7 separate regions of the Homo sapiens genome follow, and regions 2, 3, 4, 5, 6 and 7 are each linked to region 1. Evidence: promoter capture Hi-C in 16 types of primary human blood cells and fetal thymus (Javierre and others, 2016). All regions are on one chromosome and are shown on one strand. Each heading gives the region's core, a stretch centred on a gene start or on the middle of the fragment in contact. The rest is flanking DNA. Distances are from core to core; before and after follow the strand shown.

Region 1 (2,562 bases), core at 20-2,519:
CCACCCCTCCCCGTCGAGGACGTCCACCGAGTTGGTGTAGGCCTTGGGCCGCGGCCGCGGCATGGGGAAGCCGACCTTGGGCTTGGGCTTGGGCTTGCGGTGCTGGGCAGGCGGCGGTCGGTGCTGGCCGTCGCTGTAGTACTTGATGGCGGGCGCCAGGTCGGGCTCGGGCCACTCCACTTGGATGGTGCTGACGCTGCTGCGGCGAGGCCCGGCGGAGGGTCCCTTGCGGCGGCGGCGACAACGCTCGTCGCACCAGGGCGCGAAGCTGAGCGCCAGCGAGAAGCCGCCCAGCAGCAGGAGGCAGCTGCCCAGGTAGCCCAGGACCAGGCTGTAGCTGACCTGCACCGTGACCGGGCTGGCCGGGGCGGGCAGCACGTCGCGGTCCCCCAAGAAGTGGTTGTACCAGGACACCGGGATGAGGCCGAGGAGGCCAGCGACGAAGAGCACGACGCCCGAGAGCCCTGCCAGCACGAAGTTGGGCTCGTCCTGCCAGCAGCGCACGCCCAGCGACGCCAGCAGAAGCCCCAGGACCGTGGCGGCCAGCGAGGTGACCATGAGTGCCCGCGCCACCAGCACGGGCTGGGCCTCGAAGTAGCCCCACTGGTCCGTCTGGCCGCACTCGCGCTCGCGGCTGCTCTGCTCGCGACACATGTCCCACAGGCCCTGGTACAACTCCACGTCCACTGGCTGGTTCAGGAAGCCCTTCACCAGCCGCCAGCCGGGCGCCAGGGTGCCGGTCAGGTTGAGCAGGAGCCCGCAGGGCGCCAACACCATGCCCAGCGTCATCACCACCGGCGTCCGCATCCCGGCCCGCCGCGCCGACGGCGCCCCTGCAGCCTGCCTTCCTTCTCCGCTGTCGCCTTCTCCGCCGTCGTCTTCTCCCTGCCGTGCCCCAGGCTCCGGGGACCCGAAGTCAGCGCGGACGCCCCGGGCTCCGGGTCGGGCTCCTGAGCCCTGATCGCTCCAGGGACGCTCTTTGTCTCCTGCACGGGGACCGTCCCCACTTAGGCTAGTTCCCTCCTGGCGTCCCGGCCGCTCCGCCCTCCTACTGGCCCTAATCGAAACCAGCCCGCGGGCGGGTCTGACCGAAACCGCGGGTCCGGGCGCGGGCGCCCAGGGGCGGCTGCCGCGGCCAAACCTGGCCCGGGAGGGAGGGACCCGAGGTGAGCGCAGGAAGCGGCGGGGCCACCTCGCCCGCGGCAGGTGAGATGGGGATCCGAGCGGCGGGGACACCCCACCTTGCAGCCGGGCGGCTGGGCCACGCCTGGCCTGGACTGCTCACGGCCGGAGCAAAGGTCGCCCCGCCCCTGGGTCCTCGCGCCGCCCCGCCGGGCCAGGCGGGCGGTGGGCGGGGAGGGAAAGAGGCGGCGCTGGCGGGACGCGGTGGCTGCGCAGCTTCCCTGCTGCTCAGCGGATCTCGGTTCCTAGAATTTGTTTCCGGTCCCTGCCCGTCGACCCTGCGCTTATAGCTTAGCCCTTTACTCCCAGAGGGTTCCAGATCGCCCCCTGGTTTGCTCTGCAACTTGCAGCCACTCGCAGAGAAGTGGGCGGTGCCGAGCGCTCCCGGGGATTGGAGGTGCGCTGGGTGAGTGTGCAGAAGCCCACCCAGTCCAGGAGCGTGTCCCAGAACGTTGCACCGGATTATTTCCTTAATAAAGGCTCCACACTCTGGATTAAATTCGTCTCTAAAGAATCTGTGCCAGTGTACTTCTGGGCAGAAGGGTTACACAAGGATTTTACTTTCCTTTTTCAGCCTTGTGAGACTTTCAAGGGGACTAGAAAGAGGGACCAGTGTTCCCGGATGTCCTGCTTAGCGTTTTTTGCAGGTTTATTTAATTTTACAGTGTACTGTGGCCTTTCTCGTCTGTAGGTTATTTTACAACTCTATAAATTATAGAAAGCCTGTAGTATTGCAAATGACTTTTGCCAACATCAAGGCTAATGAGTTCGTCCCAGTGGAATGATTATTGTCCAATGGATACTGACCAGTATGGCATTGATTTGTAAATTCATTTTAGCATTCCTGTTTGTCTGTATATGTGTGTCCTTTTGTTCTTTGCTTTTTTTTTTTCCTTTTTCTTTTATTTATTTATTTATTTATTTATTTATTTATTTATTTTAAACAGGGTTGGGGAGTTTCGCTGTGTTGCCCAGGCTGGTTGCAAACTCCTGGGCTCAGGTGAGTCTCCCGCCTCAGCCTCTGGAGTAGCTAGGACTGCAGGCAAGTGGCCAGCTTCTTTGGTTTTAACATCATACTGGTTTCCTTATTCAATAATGAGTTAAATAACCTCTTTCACACATATTCATTTTATATTTGTGTGAAAGTCACGATGTTTACATTTTTTCTAAAAATTATCCTTTAATAACACTTTTTTGTATTTTCTAGATTTTTACAATGAAAACGTATTGCCTTTATAATTGTTTAAAATTAAAACTATTTTTAAAATTCAAGTTAATTTAGCATTGGTTTGAAATAATTTTGAATATTCCAGAGTGGACAACACTAGGAATGACAGTGACTGCTTTTTTTAAAAGAATATTTTTAAATTAAAAAAAAAA
Region 2 (2,562 bases), core at 23-2,522, 460 kb after region 1:
AATCACAGTGGAATATTCCAAGTGAACAATACCTCACTTTAAGAAGTGCATTTAGAAATGAGATTGTAAAATGTTTCTTACCAGACTTAAAGTCTGCGTTGATATTAATGCCTGACAGGTATCATGAGGCATATTTGACCCCGACTTCCCGGCAATGCCTGAAATAGTCTCTCAGGTTAAATTTTAAAACAGTCTTGGCTGAGGAGGAAGTCTATTCAGATGGTTGGGGGGGCCTTAGAATTTTATTTTTGCTTTACAGACCTGACACCTAATGAATGTGTGAATAGAAAACACCTAGATGCTCAGAAGAATGGGTAGTGAAATATTCGTATTCATATACCAATCAGAGAGTTTTGGCTGATCACAGGCTGCCAACTGTTCAAACCACATTCAAATAAGGTAAATGCTGAGCTGTAACCAATCTGTCTGCTTCTGTACCTCACTGCCTTTTCTGTACATCATTTTCCTTTTTCTCTTCATCAATTTTCTCTGACTACGCAGCAGCGCAGAGCTGCTCTGAACCTATTTTGTTTCTGTGTCTAATTTTTGAGTCTGATTTGTGAATCATTCTTTGCTCAGTTAAATTCTGTTAAATTAGGCCAGGTGCAGTGGCTCACACCTATAATCCTAGCACTTTAGGCACTGAGGCAGGCGGATCACTTGAGGTCAGGAGTTCAAGACCAGCCTGGGCAACATGGCAAAACCCCGTCTCTACTAAAAGTACAAGAATCAGCCAGGCATGGTGGTGAGCACCTGTAATCCCAGTCACGTGGGAGGCTGAGGCAGGAGAATCACTTGAACCCGGGAGGCGAGGTTGCAGTGAGCTGAGATTGCACCAAGGCCTTCCAGCCTGGGCGACAGAGTAAGACCCTGTCTCAAAAAATAAAGAAAGAAATAAAAATAAATTGACGAAGGATTGAGCATGCAAAATAGAATCAGCTTTTGACCCTGAATACCCTGCAGTGAGAATTCCCCTGTGGTTCTCAGGCTTCTGTAATTCCAGCAATACACTCTTCCTTCAGGTTCACTAAAATGCAGATATTGTAAGATAATGCTCATTTCTCACAGCTTGCTTCAATAATAATGATCATCATAGTAATTTACAACTTAATAGTCAACACTGCCTTTTTAACCCAGTCTGTGAGACTGAACCATAAACGTGACATTCTTTGAAGTAAAGCTCTCAATTAATATACCAGACTGCATAAACTCCAATAACTTACCTTTCCACGGAAAGAGAATAGGTGGGTATTCTCTCTGAAGACAAATGGTGGAGAGTAGACTCTCATCAAAGACCCTCTGGCAGTAATAAGTTGCATTCCAGAAGGTTCCAGAAGGTTCTGTGGAAGGCTGCAGTTTGGGATTGGTTCTCAGATGTCTGTCTAACTGCTTTCTAAGGATGAGGACTCCTGGTTTGTGCTTTAGCTACACCCACAGGAGCAACAGACTAAGACATTCCTCCACACAATAACAGAACCAGGGAGTGCAGACCATGTGGGTCTTACCTGGCCTGTTGTCCACCGTCTGGTTTTATCTTAGACCGAGCCTGCTGCAATCCATGTTGTGTATTGGCACTCCACTTAAGTTTCCTGTTTGTAAAAAGCCCCTTTCATTCGGTGATTCCTCAGGGCTTTAGGGGAACTTTCTGGAAACCAGGCAGAAGGAAATAATGGTGGTTTTGCTGAGGATGGGTGACGTTGGGCACGGGACCCAAATGAGTGGTTTGAGCAGAAAGTAGCCTCCACGCTGGACTAATGCAATAGTCCTGCCATGATTTCATTGCAGGGCTGTGACCGTCTACGACAAGCTGGCATCTTTCTTTAAAGAGGCACCTCTGGACCTGCAGCACCGGCTCCTCATGAAGGTGGGCAGCACGCACTCTCTGTTCAGGGCCTGGTAGGCCTCCCATCCTCAGCTGCCTTCTCTCCTGCTCGCCACTGCCCTGGCCTCTCCCCTTCTCACTGCAGACCTGGGAACCCACTCATCCAGGGGTTGGCAAACTAAGGCTACAGGCCAGTCTCCTGCTTTTGTAAATCAAGTTTCATTGGGACACAACACACTCATTAACTTCTGAGTTGTCTATAGCCGCCTTTGAGCTACAATAGCAGAATTGCGTTTTGCAACAGAGAACGTCTGGCCTGCAAAGCCTGAAGTATTTACTCTCTGGCCCCTTAAGAAATGTTTGTGGACCCCTGCACTGTCTTACTCTCCTGCCAATGGGTTCCCAGGCCTGTGGCAGGATCTGTGGACCTGTGTGTCCCCTGGGGTGTCTCATGGGGCTAAGGAAGGGACCTTTGTGCAGGTCCACATACCCTGAGGTGTGCCCCTGGGTAAGCTGGGGTGGTGTGGGAGGGCATCCTAGCACCCTCATCTTGAGTCCAGGGGATGATAAGACAGTAAGTCCCGTGGAGAAAAGGAATGAGTCAGTCTTGTTTGCTGTTGTAACCTTAGCACCCAGAAACAATATTAGAGAAAGCAAGCCCATGCCTCGATTGGCAGGGGTGGCCTGGTGCTGCTGATGCGGCTGGGCACCCCAACTGTTGGGAGCCTGCAGGCCTTGCC
Region 3 (2,562 bases), core at 47-2,546, 440 kb after region 1:
GAGTTTCGCTGTGTTGGCCAGGCTGGTCTTGAACTCCTGACTTCAAGTAATCCACCTGCCTCGGCCTTCCAAAGTGCTGGGATTACAGGCATGAGCCACCACACCTGGCCTATAGCAGCTATATTCTTATTCCTACTATCCGTTTCATGTCCGTATGTTGTTTTGGATGTACTGAATAGAGGAAATTCACATTCATCCAGAAGTAGGCTAAGGGGAACTGCAGTTCAAGGGCATGTCCCTCAAGCAAAGCAAAACGCCCAAGACATGACGGGTGCCCAGTGAATACTTCCTCAATGTGCAAAAGAGAAGTAGGTTGCAGGAAGGGAGTTCCTGATCAGGTGCCTGTTTCCAGAAGTGGCCACTTGTGTGGCAGCTGGCAGTGATGAAGAGCCCTTTGGCTGGAACTGGTCCCAATCTCAGCCCCTTCACTTGCTGCTTAGTTCTGGAGCCACTTAAGAGAATCTGTGCCGCCTTTATCCACTCAAGGCATAGAGAGCTCTCAGCCTCTCTCCCTTCCTTTTTTGCCAGGGAGGATGCCCTCTCTGATACAGGCACAAGATCAGCACTGTCTCCTTCCGTAATCAGCCTGTTTCTTTTTCATTCCTCTGCCCACTTTAATACAACCAATACAGCTGTTTTGTTACCTTTGCCATTTTATTCCCAAAGTTGCAGCTTATATTGGGTGAACCTTCCCAAAGGAGATAATTTCATTAATGTCCATTTCATTCATTTTAAATTCATTCATTTAAAATTCAATTTCATTAATTTCCATTATGGAAGCTTAGGTGATGAACAAAAATCAATGGACTTACTTTATAGCCTCATGGGTTAGTAGTCTCTGAAGGGTGATTTTGTTTGATTAAGCTCAGCTGATGATATGAATTCCAAGCAGCAAATGATCACTGAGTACCTGTTTTGTGGAAGGAAGGCATTGGTGTACACACGTGGAGGCTGTGGACTTCATATGTTGTACTTGGTTTCAGCCTTTACTGAAACAAGTGCGGACACTAAATGGCAATGGGGTCCGTTTAGCTGACTGGATATTAGCTGCTCAGGCTATTTTTACAAGGACCGTTCTAGCCACATCACCACATGTAGTGCCCTGTGACGCAAAATGACTCCATTGATGGAAATGCTTTTCTCCTCTTCCTCTGCCTTTTGCCAAGGCTAAGGGAGCTGAAGGAGACGTTAGGTAAAGGGACCGAAGAAAATGTAACAGACAGCAGCTCTAAACAGACTGGCCTCTAGGAGACTTGCTAAGAGGAGGTCCTTCTGGGCTGAGTCAAAGCTCCCATTATTTTGGAGGTTTTCTGGAATCTTCTGCTTTGTCTGTCATTCTCCCCTCCCTCAGGGTCCATAGCAGTGTACACATTACCTTTTCAAAAGCCACTTATCACTTTGCATGGCCACTGTGAATGTACATGTCTCTCACACATATTGTGAACTCCTCGAGGGAAGGAACTCTGCCCTGGACGTGTTTGTAACCCCTGTCCCTAGCTTGGTAGATACAACAGGCCTTGCTTAAATAGTATTTTAACAAAGAGCCCTGTGTCCTGTACAGTTCTAAGACAAAGAAGAAAGCAGTTACAGTCTTGTGGAAAAGGTGGGAAAATGTGGGAAGATGGTAAAATCTGTTCCCTGATTCTTCTGGTGCCTGCTGGTACCTTCTCTGGGCTGACAAACAACTGCCATCTCTGGTAAGGAAGGGTTGCTGTCCTGCTGCCAGGCACACAGATGCTGAGGCATACTGCTGCCCTGAGCTTTCCGTCTTTCTAACTTAATAATCCTCAACATTTTGGAGAGAAAGCTTTTGATTTCCTTCAAGGTGTACAGGGAAATTTTACCAAGATAGATCATATTCTGGGCCATCAATTACGTTTCAATGAATATGAAAAGATTAAAATCCTACAAAGCGTGGTCTCTGATCACAATGGAAATAAAGTAGATATAAATAAAAGATATTTAGAAAATCCCCAAGCATTTGGAAACCAAGTAATACAATTAAAATATCCCAAAAAGATATAGTAAATAGTTGAAAAAGAAAATTTATGAGATGCAGTTAAAACAATGTTTAAGGGAAATTAAGCACCAAACACCTATATTAGAAATGGAGAAACATCTTACTCAATATCTTCAGCCTCCATTTGAAGAAAGAAGTAAAAGAAGAGCAAAGTAAACCCAAAGTAAGCAGAAGAAAGGCAATAATGAAGAATATAAATCAATGAGATAGAAAACAATAAAACAATGAGGAAAAATCAATAAAACCAAAAGCTGTTTTGTTAAGGAGAAAAATTAAAATGAGAACCTGTAGCCAGTCTTATTAGGAAATAAGAGAAAAGACACAAATTACTAATGTCAAGAATAAGAGAGGTAACATCACTATGGATTCTATACATCCTAAAGGGATAATAAAAGAATGTTCTGGCTGGGTGTGGTGGCTCATGCCTGTAATGCCAGCACTTTGGGATTCTGAGGTGGGTGAATCACTTGAGCTCAGGAATTCAAGACCAGCCTGGCCAATATGGTGAAATCCTGTCTCTAATGAAAATACAAAAATTAGCT
Region 4 (2,562 bases), core at 19-2,518, 450 kb before region 1:
TATACCTACCTGTGAAACCCTCCATATCTGGGGCGCTCTGTGCCACGGGTGTCAGACTTTTGCAAAAGCCCTGTCATTCTAACGGGACGCCCTCCTGTAGGAAGTTGCCCCCTGGCGCCCGTCCTCCGGCTTCTGATGAAACGGCGACCCACCACCCCCTTCCCAGACCCTGGCCCGCAGCCGGATCACTCCGGGCGCGCTGCCGATCACGTGGCGAAGCGGTGCTCCCCAGCGCCGTGGCTGCGCGCCCATTGGTCGGCGGCTGGAGTCCCGGGCGCGCCCATTGGCTGCGGGGGGCGTTCACGTGGCAGGGGGCCTGGGATGGACCCCGGGGTCCCGAGAGCTGGCAGGAAAGTTAAAGGGGGCAGCGCGGCCGCGGGGAGCTCGAGTCCCGGGTGACTGCTGGAGGGAGGAGGTGACCGCGCAGCTCTCGTGCACGGACGGACTTCGCCGCCCGCGGGGGGCGCGAACCCGAGCCCGGGCCCAGCTCCTGCCGTCACGGCAGCTGTCCCTGTTCCCCCAGGGCGTATGCTGCCGCGGGCTGGCGCGTCTGCCCTCGGGACTTATGAGCTGAACCCGGTACGTAGCTCCCCAAGTCTCGAGTCCGAGGGAAGGGCTGGGGACAACAAGGCGAGGGCGTGCAGCGGGGACCTCTTTGGGTTCCTGTCACCTACATTTTCACCGTGCGACTTGCACTGGCACACCGGGGCTGGAACACTCTAGGTAGCTGGCCCCAGGGAGCTGTTGCTTCAGCGTGGAGAGGGCGATCCAGGGACCGCAGCTGGGAAGCGCCTCCCGGGCCCACGTGCTCCACCGCGCTGCTGGGCCCGGCTGCGACCGTGACCCGGGAGCTGCGGCTGCGGCGGCTGATCCCTTTACCACCTGTTGTTCTGGCTTCGAAACTAGCACAAGTTCCCAGCCCCGGGTCCCGAGAGGTCTGGAGACTTCTCCAAAGTTGGGTAGTGGGGTTTGGAGCTTAAGGACAAGCCGCTTCGTCTCTCTCCGGGCCTTATTTTCCCTATAAAACGCGAGGAAATACACTTGGTAGGCTCTCAGGCCACCGAGGGCGACGGGACCTAGCACGATCCCCGTCCCGGGCTGGCGGAGGCCAGGCGGCCGCGCGGGGGTGCTGGTGTCGCGCTGCTTGCTCCGGCCGGGGTTGCCCCTTTGCCGGCCCCGCCCGGGTGCGATAACGGGCTCCTCCTCCTCGTCGTCTTCCTCCCACCGCCGACATCTCCGGGAACCCAGCCCAGGCCCTGCCTCCCGGACACACCGACGCTCACGTAGTCGCGCTTGCCACAACCCTGCGGGCTCTCCGATGCGGCGAGCGAGCTGGGGAGGGGGCTTCTCCGCGGCCCAAAAGGTGGGTGCGGCGCGAGGCCAAGGAGGCTTGTAGGGAGGTTGGGGGCGGAGTGCAGCCCTGGTCAAACTGGACGGAGGGGACAGAGTCGGAGAGTAACTTGTGGGATCCTCCAGCCTGGAGAGCACTGGCCTGCTCCTGCGTCTCTTTGGAATCCAGAAAAAGGGGTGTGGAAGGCACAGTAGCTGCAAAAGAGGGAGTGGGGGCCGGTAATGACTTACTGGAAGATTTGGGGCCTGTCAGAGCACTGTTTTCTGAAAAAGAGGAGAAAACAGAGGAAAGACTGGACTTGGGAACTTGGAGACTTGGAAGGTGTTGGAACCTGTGGTCTGAGTGGCGGGGGCCTGCCTGGGAGACCCAGGGTGCAGCAGAAGAGACAATTAGAGCTTTGGTCTGGGAGGAAGAGGAGGAGAGGAGGAAATGTTTCCTTGGGCAGAGTTGTCCAGGAGCCAAAACTAAAGTGAAGACAGCTGGAGGACTTACACAAAAGTACAGTTGAGGTATTTAGGAAAAAAAGTTAGTGGGAAGAGAAGCGGCACCAGGGGTGGGTCGCAACATACAATGTCAGGGCCAGCAGGGACCTTGGAGGGGACCTCAAGCCCAGAGCAGCTGAGTGACTCGCTCAAGTAGCAAAGCAAGGTGCGGGCATTCTTAGCCTAGTACTCTGTTTTCCCTCGTACGTTTTTAGACGGCAGGGGCTGTGTCATTTGAACTTGCCTCTTTCCTAGAATATGCAACTGTATTCACAAATGTCAGTCTCCAAGATGCTTTGGATGATGGGGACAGGATCAAGGGGTACAAGGAGCCTTTAAGGCTGTGAATAGGCCCCCATGGTCTGAGTACAAAGGGGAAAGACATGCACTCTCTTCATGCTGGATCAGTGAAACCTTTTGGAAGGGAACACAGAATTGTTGGAGGGAGGTAGATGGCCATGTCTTTAAAAATGAAAATTATAACCTGGTTGTGAATGTTTACTGAATGCAGTTCGGCAGCTTTCAGTGTTCCTGGTGGGTTGCTTGTGCATCTGATTTTTTTGTTTGTTTGGTTTTGTTTGTTTGTTTTGAGACGGAGTGTCGCTCTGTCGCCCAGGCTGGAGTGCAGTGGCGCCATCTCTGGCTCATTGTAAGCTCCGCCTCCCGGGTTCACGCCATTCTCCTGCCTCGGCCTCCTGAGTAGCTGGGACTACAGGCGCCCGCCACCAC
Region 5 (2,562 bases), core at 34-2,533, 410 kb after region 1:
CGTGGCTTTGGCAAACAGCAGTCTATTTCCACGAAAACCCAAGTGACTCCCGGGGAAGAAAAATACACACATAAGTAAAACTTGTCCCAAGGGGAAAGAGGAGCAGGCCGGCCCATGTCTTCCAAGACTGAAGAGTCAGTTATCCGGGAGAAGAATGGCTGTGTTTGTCTTTCAGATCTTTCCCTGGTCCAGCCTAGTGGACTCATGCCTGAATCTTATTTTAAATAGAGTAGGGGCTGGGTGCGGTGGTTCACACCTGTAATCCCAGCACTTTGGGAGGCTGAGGCAGGTGGATCACTTAACGTGAGGAGTTCGAGACCAGCCTGGGGAACATGGTGAAACCCCATCTCTACTAAAAATACAAAAATTAGCCAGGTGTGGTGGTGGGAGCCTATAATCCCAGCTACTCAGGAGGCTGAGGTGGCAGAATGAATCGCTTGAACCTGGGAGGTGGAAGTTGCAGTGAGCCGAGATCGTACCACCATACTCCAGCCTGGGCGATAGAGGGAGACTCTGTCTCAAAAAAAAAAAAAAAAAAAAAAAAAAAGAGTAGAGGTAATCATATAATTAAAAGTGAAAATGCCTGTTTCTCAAAACCTTTGGGTATAAGCTTTATACCCAAACTTCTGGACCAGTTTAATGGAGTACAGCCCTCAAAGGGAGGCAAGAATTCTCTCCCACTTTTCCAAGGAATATTATGCAGTTCAGCATCTCCTCCCCAACCCTGAGGTTCCAGTACCTCAGCATCTGCTGTATGGGCTCTAGGGTGTCTGCAGTGAAAGCAGCTAATTGGAGGCAGTGATGTCAAGCAGGGCCAGAGAGGGTGGCAGGGGCTGCAGCACCAGCAGCCAGGCGATGCTCAGCCTGAGCATGGCCAATGCACCCTGTGTAGCATCCAGGAGAGGCAGCACATCCCTACCAGAGCCATGGTACAAAATACAAGCCACCTGGGTATCTGGAAGCGAGGGTGGGGCTTGGTAATAATTACTAAAGCATGCAGCACAGCAACAGCCAAAGAGAAGAAAGGGAAAAAAGTGAAATATGTAATCTTATTCACAAATAAATATAAGAACAAATTCCACTGAATCCCTGAAAACAAAATGTGGGGCGAGGGCAGTAAACGCAACTGACTACTGTAAATGCAACCTCACCTTAAAAGATTACCAACTAGCTAAGCATGGTGGCCCACGCCTGTAATTCAAGCACTTGGAGGCTGAGGTGGGTGGATCATTTGAGGTCAGGAGTACGAGACCAGCCTGGTCAACATGGTGAAACCCCTGTCTCTACTAAAAATACAAAAGTTAGCCAGGTGTGCTGGTGTACATCTGTAATCCCAGCTACTCAGGAGGCTGAGACAGATGAATCGCCGGAATCCGGGAGGCAGAGTTTGCAGTGAGCTGAGATTTGACTATTGCACTCCAGTCTGGGTGACAGAGTGAGATCCCATTTCAAAAAAAAAAAAACAAAAATTACCAACTACTAGCCTTATGGAGCAATATTTAAGTTGTTTTTATTTTGACTTAGACTTTAGGGCTAAATCTATGTTTTAATGAAGAAAAAATGTGTTCATAAATAATTATTTTCCTCAGAAGAAAAACATATTTTCTTTTATCACGTTGCCAGCCCAAAGGAGAGCTCATGTTTAAAAAATCACAGTGTTAGTTTATGACCAGCCTGGGCAACACAGCAAGATCCTGGCTCTACCAGAAAAAAAATTTTTTTTTAATTAGCCAAATGCAGTGGCACATGCCTGTAGCCCCCACTACTCCTCAGGAAGCTGAGGTGGAAGGATCACTTGAACCCAGGAGTCCAAGGCTGCAGTGAGCTATGATCATGCTACTGCACTCCAGCCTGGAAGACAAAGCGAAAACAACAATAACAACGACAACAGCAACAAAAAGCAAAAATCACAGCGTGTCTTAGGACTCATGTTCACTTTCATTTTTTTAAAGCTTTGCTAATTACTGATTAATCTTTTCTATTCCCTGTTGCTTAAACAATATTAGAATGTTTCTGTGCACAAAATCCAAGACTCAAAAACACAAAATAAAATTTGATGGCTTTTAAGTAAAAATTTGTTACTCAACTTATTTTTACCGCGATTTAGATTCATTGTGATGTTGGAGGTATGACCTTATCTATTCATCTGAATGACATTTTGTTTCAACAAAAGGGCAGTGCTCTCAATGTCAAATAATAAGATAGAAATCTTTAATCCCTTTAGTCCTTCTGTATACCTAGGTCATTTTATTTTAGAGTGTATGTGTACAGAGAGTATACTCAACTAACCCTCATAGTGATTACACTGGTTGTACCTAATGCAACAAATACTATTCAACTTTAACAAAATAAGAATTTTATACTGTCTGGCTTATTCTTAATTCTTCCCTAAGGGCCTATTTGGTTTAGCATCAAATACAAGATTAAGAGACTCTAAACGTTAGCTGAACAGCCACTCAAGGGATTTAGACATGATCTCTTTACACAAAAGAGTTAGCATACATCTGATATCCCCTGCACAGAGAACACATGTTTATACATATAATAAATCTCCTTTTCCTA
Region 6 (2,562 bases), core at 24-2,523, 390 kb after region 1:
CTCATTGAAATAGTTCATGGAACTTGGAGTCAGCTCTTGAACAATAGAAGCCTGATGCTGTTAGTCTTGGCTGAGTACAACATGAGTCATGTGCTGTTTCAAGTACCCAACTGAACATGGGTAGAAAGAAGGGGCTCCCTGGGTGACAGCCAGTGGAACAATTCCATGTGGAGATAGGGTTGGGGGAATGAGGTGGGGTGGGGGCTGCGCTCCCAGCACAGGAAGCAGACAAGGGTGCAGATCAGCCTGCCTTCCCGGTCAGTGCCGACTGTGCCCTGCAGCCGGGGTTGGCAGACACCTCCCAACTATGAGTCACACATTTGATCACAGCGTTCATCCTGCAGACAGGCCTCACTGGAACCAGCTGCTGGGCCCTGGCCTATTACCCAACTACCCCCTTTGTTTCATCTCTGAAAAGGCAACAGTTCATTGGAGAAAGAGTCAAAATGAAGAAAACCAAGGGCAATGTTAAATGGCTATGGCAGTCATTCATTCTTTTGGTAGGATATTCACTTCTATTTTTTTTTTTCTGAGATAGAGCCTTGCTCCATTGCCCAGATGGAGTGCAGTGGTATGATCATAGCTCACTGCAGCCTTGACTTCCTGGGCTCAAGTGATCCTCCGACTTCAGCCTTCCAAGTAGCTGGGGCTGCATGTTCATGCCACCATACCAGACTAATTTTTTGTAGACATGGGGGTCTCACTAAGTTGCCCAGGCTGGTCCAGAACTCCTGGTTTCAAGCCATCCTCCCACCTCCATCACCCAAAGTGCTGGGATTGGAGGTGTGAGCCACCACATCCAGCCCAAGATAACCATTTCTAAACAACACCTGTCACAGGTGCTCTCATAAAACGGCTTTTCACTGGGGCACAGGCCTCTGGTAGCAGTTTGATGGAGGGTTGGAATCATGACCTTCAGTTGGACAGGCCTGGTGAGGTCTGGAGTGTTTCCCTTGTGGTAACTCTAAAGTTATTGGGAAGGAAAGGAAATAATGCAGGAGACAGACAGTGAATATTCCTGCAGAGATGTTAAGAGCATAATACAAGCCCTGATAATGGCCACAGCTGGGCTCTGCGGGGTATCTGTGTTTCTGTAAATGGACACTACTCAGTTTAGCAAACGGAAAGTGGCATTACATCCGGGTCCTCTGTCTCATTTTCATTCACAGATCCCTGTGGGCTGAGCACTGAGGAAGGAATTCATTAATGCCGCTGACCTGTCATTCAAAGACTCCCTGGGTTGCTTGAACAGAAGATTTTAGTTTGGTGTCTGATGACAATGTTGGAAAACTATGAATGACAGAATAAGAGTGTCTTTGTTTACTTGACTTCTCTGCTCCAAGATTTAAAGTCTTGTTATTTGAAATATTATTTTACCTTCTTAAAACATTCCTCTGATATATGGAGAAATCTAGAAAGATAATCTCTATTTTAAGAGAAAATTAAGGTGTGGAAAAGTGAAATGATAAGTGAAGTGTAAATTCAGGACTAGAGTCTAGGCTGCATGCCTTCCATTCTCTACTAAGTACACTGTACCTCCATGTGTATACCCCAGTGTTTACTGGCTACCCATCAGCATCTTGCCCGTCCTTCAGTTTTTTTTTTTTTTTTTTTTGGGATGGAGTCTCACTCTGCTGCCCAGGCTGGAGTGCAGTGGCATGAACTCAACTCACTGCAGCGGCATGATCTCAACTCACTGCAGCCTCCGTCTCCCGGCTTCAAGCAATTCTCCTGCTTCAGCCTCCCGAGTAGCTGGAATTATAGGTACCCACCACCACGACCGGTTAATTTTTGTATTTTTAGTAGAGATGGGGTTTTGCCATGTTAGCCAGGCTGGTCTCGAACTCCTGACCTCAGGTGATCCGCCCACCTTGGCCTCCCAAAGTGCTGAGATTACAGGCATGACCCGCCACACCCAGCCAGTCCTTCAATGTTTGGCTCAAGGCACACCTAATTCAAGAACATAGAGAGTAGAAGGATGGTTACCAGAGGCTGGGAAGGGTGGCAAGGGGCTCAATGCAGGGAGGTGACGATGGCTAACGGGTGCAAAGAAATAGCCAGAAAGAATAAAATCTACTATTTGATAGTATAACAGGTGACTATAGTCAATAATAACTTCATTGTACATTTGAAAATAGGGAGTGTCACTGGATTGTTTGTAACTTTAAGGATAAATGCTTGAGGGGATGGATACCTCATTTTCCATGATGTGCTTATTTCACATTGCACATAATATTTATCTCATGTACCCAATAAATATATACACTTACTATGTAGTCCCCAAAATTAAAAGCAATAAAAAAGAATAACTAATAAAAATAAAAATAAAAAAGTCCTCCCCTGCTTATGAAAGCTAGTGTCCCTTTCTCCTCTGCAATTATCCACTACTGCATCTCTCCGAACCTGGGAGGCAGGCAGTTTTTTAAAAATCTGAACATAAGTATATTCTTTGTCACTGAGTAGACTGTAGGACCATTGAGAGCAGTGACAATGTCCTACACGGCTTGCTCCCTCATTCCCTTGCCCCCTGCGTTGTATGCAGTAGGTGTTTAATAAATGTGT
Region 7 (2,562 bases), core at 44-2,543, 370 kb after region 1:
GATTTAAAAATCTCTCCAAGATGTGAAAGAAAAGCATTATTCCAAACAGTAGCCACCGTTTGCTCTTTTCTATGTAATTTGTGTGTGTGTGTGTGTGTGTGTGCGCACGCGTGCAGGCACGCATTTGTTTGGATTGTTGGAGGGATGCATGAAACACTACTGACAGTGGTTTCCTCTGATGAGAGAGCTGAGTATGAGGGACAGGGTAGGAGGAAGACTTAGTTGTCAATCTATACCTTTTCTGCATTTTGATTTTTTCCATTGTGCATATATTGTCTATTAGAGAAATAGAAAAGAAGTAACATAAAATTAATTGCTCTGACCAAATAAATAAATAAATAAAGGGAAACAAGTCTGCAGGACCCTGGAATTGAGTGGCACTGGCCTTGGTCTTATGGTTTCTGTCTCTCCTCTTCAGGTCCCTCGTCTGAGCTGGCTCACTCGCCCACCAACAGCGGGAAGAAGCTCTTTGCTCCCGTTCCGTTTCCTTCAGGCTCCACTGAGGACGTGTCCCCCAGTGGCCCCCAGCAGCCCCCTCCACTCCCCCAGAAAAAGATAGTGAGCCGGGCAGCCTCTTCACCGGATGGCTTCTTCTGGACCCAAGGCTCCCCCAAGCCCGGAACAGCAAGCCCCAAGCTGAACCTAAGCCACTCGGAAACCAACGTCCACGACGAATCTCACTTTAGCTATTCGTTGAGCCCCGGGAACCGCCACCATCCTGTCTTCTCCTCTTCCGATCCTCTGGAGAAAGCTTTCAAAGGCAGTGGCCACTGGCTTCCGGCAGCAGGGCTGGCGGGCAACAGAGGCGGCTGCGGGAGCCCTGGCCTCCAGTGCAAAGGGGCCCCCTCCGCCTCATCCTCCCAGCTGAGCGTGTCCAGTCAAGCCTCCACCGGGAGCACCCAGCTTCAGCTGCACGGTCTCCTGAGCAACATCAGCAGCAAGGAGGGCACCTATGCCAAGCTGGGGGGACTCTACACCCAGTCCCTGGCCCGCCTTGTAGCCAAATGTGAGGACCTCTTCATGGGCGGCCAGAAAAAGGAGCTCCACTTCAATGAGAATAACTGGTCGCTCTTCAAGCTGACTTGTAACAAGCCCTGCTGTGACTCGGGGGATGCCATTTATTACTGTGCCACCTGCTCTGAGGACCCCGGCAGCACCTATGCTGTGAAAGTAGGTACCACTCCCTCCTTGCATTCTGCTGTGCCACTGGCTGGTGCTGGCTTGGGCAGAACTGTGGCCTGAGCAAGTCATTTCACCTGTCTGGGCATTAGGAGGGGAGTTGATTCCTAAGCATTCTTTTTTTTCTTGTAAGATAAGAGTCTCACTTTGTTGCCCAGGCTGGAGTGCAGTGGCACAATCTTGGCTCACTACAGCCTCCGCCTCCCATTTTAAAGCGATTCTCCTGCCTCATCCTCCTGAGTAGCTGGGATTATCTGTGTGCACCACGGTACCCAGCTAATTTTTGTATTTTTAGTAGAAATGGGGTTTTGCCATATTGGCCCGGCTGGTCTTGAACTCCTGACCTCAGATGATCCACCCACCTCGGCCTCCCAAAATGCTGGGATTACAGGTGTGAGCCACCACCCCTGACCCCTAAGCATTCTTTTAACACTTAGTGCTCAGCAGCTTCACTCTCTCTCTGCCCCAGGACATGGTGCAATGAGATTTGTAGTATGAATATAAGACACATTCTGTGCTTTAGCTGAGTTAAGAAAACAGTTGCCTTTTAGTGCAACGGAGAGTTTATTCATTTATTGACCAGGTTTTTATTGAGTGTCTACTATAGGCCAGGTACTTTGCCACAATCTGAGTATGTAGGTGTGAATATAAGCTTCCTTATAGAGCTATGATGTAGTGAGGGAGATGGATAATGAGGTCATTCTTCTAATGTTAGATCCAGAAGGAGCATTCGACCTAGGAATCATCTTGAACAATAATAGTAATAATATCATTTGTGTGAGCATTCACTCTACAACTAGACTCTTACCTCTAATCCTAACAGTAATCCTACAGGTTAGGTAGGTTTTACAGATGGAGGATCTGAGGCTCAAAGTGGTTAAGTAATTTGCCCATAGCTAGTTGGTGGCTGGAATGGATTTGAGCTCTTCTGTGTCTGTCTCCAAAGCCTAAGTTATGTCCCTACCATTTAAGATAAATGAAGTTCAGAGACATTAAGTGACTAGCTCAAGGCAGCACAGCTCTTTAACCTTTGATGCTGGATCAGGCCTCTTGCTACCCACACTGTATTGCACTGTCAGAGTGCAGCTCTGTGTGAGCTAGTTGAGCCATCTGCACCCATTTGGGCCACTGGAGTCTCTACCATGAACTCCAGTCCTTCCTGTGGCCCTATTTGTCATCTTCTTTTGCTGTTCCTTGATTACCTATTGAGACCCTGGCCCTTCTATAAATGTGGGCTTTTATTGGGAGTCAGGAGGGAGACCCTGAGCTATCTTCTCTCATCACCTGCCCTAAGACATCGCTTTTTTTTCCAGTTAGAAAAGTGCAAAGAATAAGCTAATTTGAAATGGCCTTGGTGGGGTAGCTTGCTTACCAACAATTTTT

Evidence for each region. The method cuts DNA at HindIII sites, captures the fragments that hold promoters and counts their contacts. A CHiCAGO score of 5 or more calls a contact.
Region 2: a fragment that was not itself captured here is called in contact with the fragment with the promoter of CLDN23 in region 1 in 5 of 17 cell types (M1 macrophages, M2 macrophages, total B cells and 2 more); the score reaches 8.2 in M1 macrophages.
Region 3: a contact is called between a fragment that was not itself captured here and the fragment with the promoter of CLDN23 in region 1, in 16 of 17 cell types (naive CD4 T cells, naive B cells, total B cells and 13 more). The highest score is 27.7, in naive CD4 T cells.
Region 4: a contact is called between the fragment with the promoter of PPP1R3B here and the fragment with the promoter of CLDN23 in region 1, in 1 of 17 cell types (fetal thymus). The highest score is 5.6, in fetal thymus.
Region 5: a contact is called between a fragment that was not itself captured here and the fragment with the promoter of CLDN23 in region 1, in 12 of 17 cell types (total B cells, naive CD4 T cells, M0 macrophages and 9 more). The highest score is 10.3, in total B cells.
Region 6: a contact is called between a fragment that was not itself captured here and the fragment with the promoter of CLDN23 in region 1, in 6 of 17 cell types (naive CD4 T cells, M0 macrophages, monocytes and 3 more). The highest score is 8.1, in naive CD4 T cells.
Region 7: a contact is called between a fragment that was not itself captured here and the fragment with the promoter of CLDN23 in region 1, in 2 of 17 cell types (M0 macrophages and total B cells). The highest score is 7.1, in M0 macrophages.

Annotation. Positions count from the first base shown.
Region 1 is chr8:8,700,644-8,703,205 of GRCh38, reverse strand. CLDN23 (claudin 23) reads right to left here and starts at 1,269. Exons shown (of 1, transcript NM_194284.3): 1 at 1-1,269. The coding sequence starts at 807. RefSeq lists an enhancer at 476-1,443 and a silencer at 917-1,536. The HindIII fragment of the contact is 12,864 bases long and covers 1-2,562 here.
Region 2 is chr8:8,240,624-8,243,185 of GRCh38, reverse strand. It overlaps the pseudogene FAM86B3P and the pseudogene ALG1L13P. Among named protein-coding and RNA genes, the nearest start is that of FAM85B, 14 kb to the right of the region's middle. The HindIII fragment of the contact is 5,273 bases long and covers 1-2,562 here.
Region 3 is chr8:8,258,669-8,261,230 of GRCh38, reverse strand. No RefSeq gene overlaps it. Among named protein-coding and RNA genes, the nearest start is that of FAM85B, 32 kb to the right of the region's middle. The HindIII fragment of the contact is 1,027 bases long and covers 783-1,809 here.
Region 4 is chr8:9,149,364-9,151,925 of GRCh38, reverse strand. PPP1R3B (protein phosphatase 1 regulatory subunit 3B) reads left to right here and starts at 1,268. Exons shown (of 2, transcript NM_024607.4): 1 at 1,268-1,363. PPP1R3B-DT (PPP1R3B divergent transcript) reads right to left here and starts at 201. Exons shown (of 5, transcript NR_183348.1): 1 at 10-201. RefSeq lists silencers at 264-513, 1,014-1,283 and enhancers at 634-873, 920-1,868. The HindIII fragment of the contact is 22,346 bases long and covers 1-2,562 here.
Region 5 is chr8:8,290,101-8,292,662 of GRCh38, reverse strand. No RefSeq gene overlaps it. Among named protein-coding and RNA genes, the nearest start is that of FAM85B, 64 kb to the right of the region's middle. The HindIII fragment of the contact is 1,342 bases long and covers 613-1,954 here.
Region 6 is chr8:8,308,421-8,310,982 of GRCh38, reverse strand. No RefSeq gene overlaps it. Among named protein-coding and RNA genes, the nearest start is that of PRAG1, 77 kb to the left of the region's middle. The HindIII fragment of the contact is 7,345 bases long and covers 1-2,562 here.
Region 7 is chr8:8,326,318-8,328,879 of GRCh38, reverse strand. It overlaps PRAG1 (PEAK1 related, kinase-activating pseudokinase 1), which reads left to right. Exons shown (of 6, transcript NM_001080826.3): 5 at 419-1,170. Among named protein-coding and RNA genes, the nearest start is that of PRAG1, 59 kb to the left of the region's middle. The HindIII fragment of the contact is 1,080 bases long and covers 754-1,833 here.